Linked DNA regions of Homo sapiens: region 2 is linked to region 1. Evidence: promoter capture Hi-C in 16 types of primary human blood cells and fetal thymus (Javierre and others, 2016). All regions are on one chromosome and are shown on one strand. The core of a region is centred on a gene start or on the middle of the fragment in contact, and the rest is flanking DNA. Distances in the headings are between cores, read along the strand shown.

What was found. The method cuts DNA at HindIII sites, captures the fragments that hold promoters and counts their contacts. A CHiCAGO score of 5 or more calls a contact.
Region 2: a contact is called between the fragment with the promoter of ZNF438 here and the fragment with the promoter of EPC1 in region 1, in 1 of 17 cell types (neutrophils). The highest score is 6.7, in neutrophils.

Annotation. Positions count from the first base shown.
Region 1 is chr10:32,345,832-32,348,492 of GRCh38, reverse strand. EPC1 (enhancer of polycomb 1) reads left to right here and starts at 1,335. Exons shown (of 14, transcript NM_001272004.3): 1 at 1,335-1,730. The coding sequence starts at 1,578. It overlaps EPC1-AS1 (EPC1 antisense RNA 1), which reads right to left and starts at 1,129. Exons shown (of 2, transcript NR_104163.1): 1 at 1,018-1,129. RefSeq lists silencers at 745-874, 885-1,354, 2,025-2,304 and enhancers at 1,625-1,684, 1,705-1,804. The HindIII fragment of the contact is 3,163 bases long and covers 1-2,254 here.
Region 2 is chr10:31,030,534-31,033,194 of GRCh38, reverse strand. It overlaps ZNF438 (zinc finger protein 438), which reads left to right and starts at 1,330. Exons shown (of 7, transcript NM_001143768.2): 1 at 1,330-1,362. LOC105376481 (a long non-coding RNA gene) reads right to left here and starts at 687. Exons shown (of 3, transcript XR_001747410.3): 1 at 1-687. RefSeq lists a silencer at 1,109-1,668. The HindIII fragment of the contact is 8,810 bases long and covers 1-1,751 here.

The sequences.
Region 1 (2,661 bases), core at 86-2,585:
TAAGCTAGTGACAGCTCATATCAAGCCCAGTATTTAAGGAGCGTGATTACTTTTACTACGTAGTTCCCAGGGAGAAAAGCAACTCAAAACATTTTTGTATCTTTTTGTATCTTGTTGCACAAGATACAAAATTGTGCACTAAGATACAAATTGAAACTCGAATTGAAATTTGGCTGCCAATTTATTAAACCCACCCCAACAATCTTCCCTATTAACAACAACAACAACGAAGAGATCTCAGGATACCCATTTTCATGTGTAATATAAACCGATGCCACCCATCTATCATATCCATCTAAATCTAATAATTCAGCTTTTTGTTTGGCGGGAGTACGACAGGTCTTTATATGATTCAATGTTACAAAGTTTTTCAGAGGACAAATGATGAAAGTGTGAACCCACGGCTATGATGAAGCCGCAGTCTCTTTGAGTACAGAATCATGAGCTAGATATAAAGAACTGGCTTTAAATTCTGAAGTAGATCTTGCTTTTAAATGTTATAGTGGTGGGTAATAATTTCCTTTGCTTCAGTTACTATTTAAAAAGTAAATATGTGTAGATGAAAATGCAGGATTTAAAAAAATCTACTTTGTAGAATAGGATACCTATCATTTATATTAAGCCCAATGCGTGGGAAACGGATCAATGACTTGATGCGGTGCCTATAAAACATTATAATCCAAAGTTGCATTAGGACATAAAAATAACTGCTGATAAAAGTTTACTCAAAGTAGCATCTGCCCCTAATTCAGTTTGTATTTTTATCGTAAAGACCTAAGGCGCCGCGGGAACTAGGCTGTGCGTTCGCCCCCCGCGGCAGACGGCGGCGCGCGGCGCCTCTGGAGCGCCCCTCCGAAGCCCCGTGGGGGCGGCCGTGGCCCCGGGGCAGCCGCTGGCGAGCACCCCAGAGGTCCGAGCCCTCCGAGCCCCAGGTGCCCGGGGCCCGAGCCCCGCCTGCCACTCTCCCCAGCTGCCTTTCCAAACGGCGGCGTGCTGGTGGAGAGAGTTTTCCCGCACCTTGTTCGCCCGTCAGAAAGCGGCGCCGGGAGGGAGCGAGCGTGAGAAAGTGAGCGTGTGCGCTGCAGGAGAGCACGACCCAAGAGCCGGCGCCCGGTGTCCGAGCGCCCAGTCCGCCCTGTCCGCCCCCGGACCCGCGAAGGGCGGGGGCCCGGAGCAGCGAGGCGCGGGAAGCGAGGCCGGCGGGTGCCGGGGGTTGGCGGGACGCGCGCTTCGTGCCGGCGCCGGCCTCGAGCCCGCGCTCCCTCCCCCCGCCCGCGTGCCCGCGCCGCTGCGCGATGCAGTGTGGGGAATGGCTGGGGTTGGCTGAAGAGCGCACAGTGGAGTTTTAATGTCCGCCATGTTGGCCATGGCGTATTGAAGAGAGCGAGCGAGAGAGGAGCGGAGCGGCACAGCCTCCCACCCTCCCGGCTGGTGTTAGTGCCCGGACGGCGGGCTCTGCGCTCCGCCCCTCAAGTCCCCGGCAGCGGTTGGCGAGTGGGGACCGAACCCCCGGTTCTCCATGATCCCGCTGGCCGGGGCCGTTTCCCCAGAGCGGAGAGGTATCTGCTGCGCCTGAGATGAGTAAACTGTCGTTTCGGGCGCGGGCGCTAGACGCCTCGAAGCCGCTGCCGGTTTTCCGCTGTGAGGATCTGCCCGACCTGCACGAATACGCCTCGATAAACAGGGCCGTGCCGCAGATGCCCACCGGAATGGAGAAGGAAGAGGAGTCGGTACGTGTTAACTCCCCTGTCCGACCCACCGTCAGGCCCGCTCCCTCTGCTGCCTGCGGCGGCGGCGGAGCAGCAAACCCACACAAAATGGCCGCCATCTTCTCTTCGCCGCCGACTCTCAGTCGCCGGCCGGGCCTATACCCCGCCTCCCCCAGCCTCGACCCCCGGCCGCCGCGGCCCAGCGGGGCCCCTTCTAAGGCCACCCGCTGACCCTGGCCACTTGTACCCGGGTCCCGCGGAGTTCGGGGGCCCGAAAGGCACAAAGGGGTCACGTGACGAAGCTGCCGGCAGCCATTTTGTGTCTTAGTTCTTGGGTTGGGCCTTGTGCATCCGGAGAGGGGAACGGGCTGGGTGGCTGTGGGGGTGCGGCGAGTCGGGAGCCGTGGAGGACCCGCCTACAGGCCTCTCCGTGGGCCGCTGGGTGGCGCTCCAGGGCCACTGCGGCCTGCGCGCCGCTGCCCGGGCCGGGAGCGCAGGTTCTGTGCACAGTCGGGGAATTTGATTGCCCCATGGTCTGGGAAGCTTGTTGGGCTCAGTGCAGCCCCCACGTGGAGCCTCAGACGGGCATGTCATGTCGCCTGCTGCTCTATGAGGCTTTTCTCCCCCTCTGCAAGGAAATGTCGAGGGTGCAGCGTGTTTGCCCGGACGACTTACTTTTCTAGAAGATAAGACTTACTTTCAGTGTCCTCTTTCTGGGACGTTTGTATCCATCCCTCTCCAGAGCTAGTTGGTCGGAGGATAATAAACCACTATCCCTGACTTTTTCTGTGATCCTTGCGAATATCTTGCAGATTTGTTTGGAGTACCTCTCTCTTCTGAAGCCTGTAACCTTACCTATTTGTAAAATAAATTTAAGTTCTCCTGCTCTCTGGTATCTCAACATAGGGGGAGAAAAGACCCAATTTAAGTAACTTTTATAGATCTAAATTTC
Region 2 (2,661 bases), core at 81-2,580, 1.3 Mb after region 1:
AAGAATTCCACAAGCCAAATGTTAATATTTTGTTGTCAGTTCTTTAAGCCTTCATTTTTTCCGTCTATCGAGCCCTTTTTTTTAACCAGAACTCATTGCTTCTGAGAGTATAAAAGAGCAAAGAGGCCGGGCGCGGCGGCTCACACCTGTAATCCCAGCACCTTGAGAGGCCGAGGCGGGCGGATCACGAGGTCAAGAGATGGAGACCATCCTGGCCAACATGGTGAAACCCTGTCTCTACTAAAACATAAAAATTAGCCGGCTGTGGTGGCGCGCGCCTGTAATCCCAGCTACTCAGGAGGCTGAGGCAAGAAAATCGTTTGAACCCGGGAGGCAGGGGGTACTGTGAGTTGAGATCGCGCCACTGCACTCCAGCCTGGGAGACAGAGAAACACTCTGTCTCAAAAAAAAAAAAAAAAAAAAGTGGGGAGCAGAGAGCCGGACTTGGACACGGGAAGGTATCGTGACATGAGTGGGTCGGGGGCTGGAAAGTTTGCCCAGGCGAAGAAGTGAACATGTTTATCCGGATCACCGTTTGTTAAATGAACAGCAACCCATAGGTAGCTTCACCGAGCCGAAACGGGAAAGGCGGCAGGCAAGGGAGAAGCTAAAATCTGCAAGAAACGGGCTGGGCTGGAGGCGGCGCCAGGGCAAGAAGGGCAGGTGGGGGCCCGCGGGAGCCGGGAGCCAGGGGCGGGAGCCGGAAGGGCGGGACCCAGGGGCAAGGCCTAAGTGGGCGTGGGAGGGGCATAGTCAAGAGATGGGCGGGGACTGCTCGGGGTCTGGGCGGAGTCTAGCGGGAGCCGCGTCGAGCCGGGGAGGAGCGAGGGACCCTGGGAGAGCTGTCTTTTCAGGGCTGAGGACCCGCCAGCACCTGATGGAGAGCAAATGGCTGTTTCCACACGTGGAGAACTTTTAACGAACACGTGAGGAAGGCGGGCAATGTCTGTGGAAAAACTACCTCACAACCCAGGCGTCTTACTCCAGCCCCCAGGGCGACAGCTTGTTTACAGTATTTCTGAAGGTCTCCGTCCCCTTTTGTCGGCCCCTCCTCCTCCTCTAACCCCGACTTCAGGCTTTGAGTGAGGCTTTGGTAGAGCAGTCGCCGCCGCAGGCGCCCCGGTCGGCGAAGCCCACAGGCATGCGGGCGCAGAGGCCGTCTGCGCCTGCGCGGGGTGTCTGCTACGGGGAGGTGCGTGGAGCTCGAGGGCGTGGAGCTCGGGGGCGTGTCTCCCGCCGCGGCGCCGGGGCGGGGCGAGGGCGGAGCCTGGGGGCCCAGCGGCCCGCGCCCCGTGGCTTGACCTCCCCGACTGCTGGGCCCGTGACGTCACCCCGCTGTGACGCGCACGCTGTAGGAAAACTGTAAGTTTACGAGGATTCCTGCAGCTCCTAGGGCTTGCGGGGCCCGCTGGCAGCTGGCAGTCCCGGCGGTGGTGGTGGCTCTGGGGGCGTCAGTTCCTTGGGGAGTCGCCGATTGTGGCGAAGGGACAGGTGTCTGCTCAGAGTGGCAGCGCGCCCTGCTGGGCGGTAGGGACCTGGGGTGCGGGAGGCGAGGCCGCGCCCCGTGGGGCCGGGCCAGCACCTTTTCCCCTGGGGCGGGGCGCGTCTCCGAGCCTGGGAGCGAGGCCTTAGAAGGGGCGGAAAGTCCAAATGGAGAGTCCCTTTTTTTCTTCCGTGATAAAGGGACTTAGATTCCTTTTCTTCCCCCTCTCAGCCTTGGAGTTTGACATGTTAAGTAGGGGATGGAAGCTTCCTCTCAGAGAATAGGAATCCTATGTCCTGGCCGTTGGGATCCCACAAGTGACCAAGTCATCGTGGACACATTTATAAGATAACCAGTTGCTGCCTCAGTTTTCTTTTTTGTGTAAAAGGGAGGTACAGCAGCCTCTGGCCTCCCTAATGGTTGTTCCCACAGCACTAGGAACACGTGAGATAACACAAGTGTGTAAATTTGCTAGGAGAAAGCTTATACACAGACACTTGGTTATTCTGAGGAATGTGGTAGCCACTGGCTATTTGACCAGGAATCTTGTAGAAGGGGAACTTTTTCACTGTTTTGCCTCCCCCCGACAACCTTCCCTCCATCTGATTCTATACCACACTGGAGCCTGTTGGGTGATCGAACTGTTGTCACTAAACTTGATAGAATGGGGATCCCAAGAAATAACAGGTATCGTTAGCACGGTACTCTTGGCAATTACAATGCCCCCGTTGTCTGGGTTTTGCAGAGGAAGCTTTCAGTGTGCTGGAACTAGCACATTATAGACAACACAGACTCACTGAGTTTTAAGGATTGCTGTATCGATTTGGAATATCCAATCATCGTATCTGACTGCTTGAATATTTTGGTCAAGGGGTACTACATTATCGATTAGTTATTACTAGACTATAATGCCTCTCAAACTCCGGGACTAGTAGTCTTCAGGAACTTTGAAGGGAAGAATACTGTGCACACTTCAGGGTGTATTTATACAGGAGCTCGAGAGTTCACATTTCTGTAAATTCATTTCAGGAGTGTGATATCTTTTCATCCAGGTAGGAAGAGCCTTTGAATCAGAAAGCAGGGCTTCTAATTTTTGTTCTATTCGTTAACTAGCTTCGTGTCCAAGGACAAGTCACGCAAACTTGGAACTTTGTTTTTCTTATCTAAAATGAGAGCCG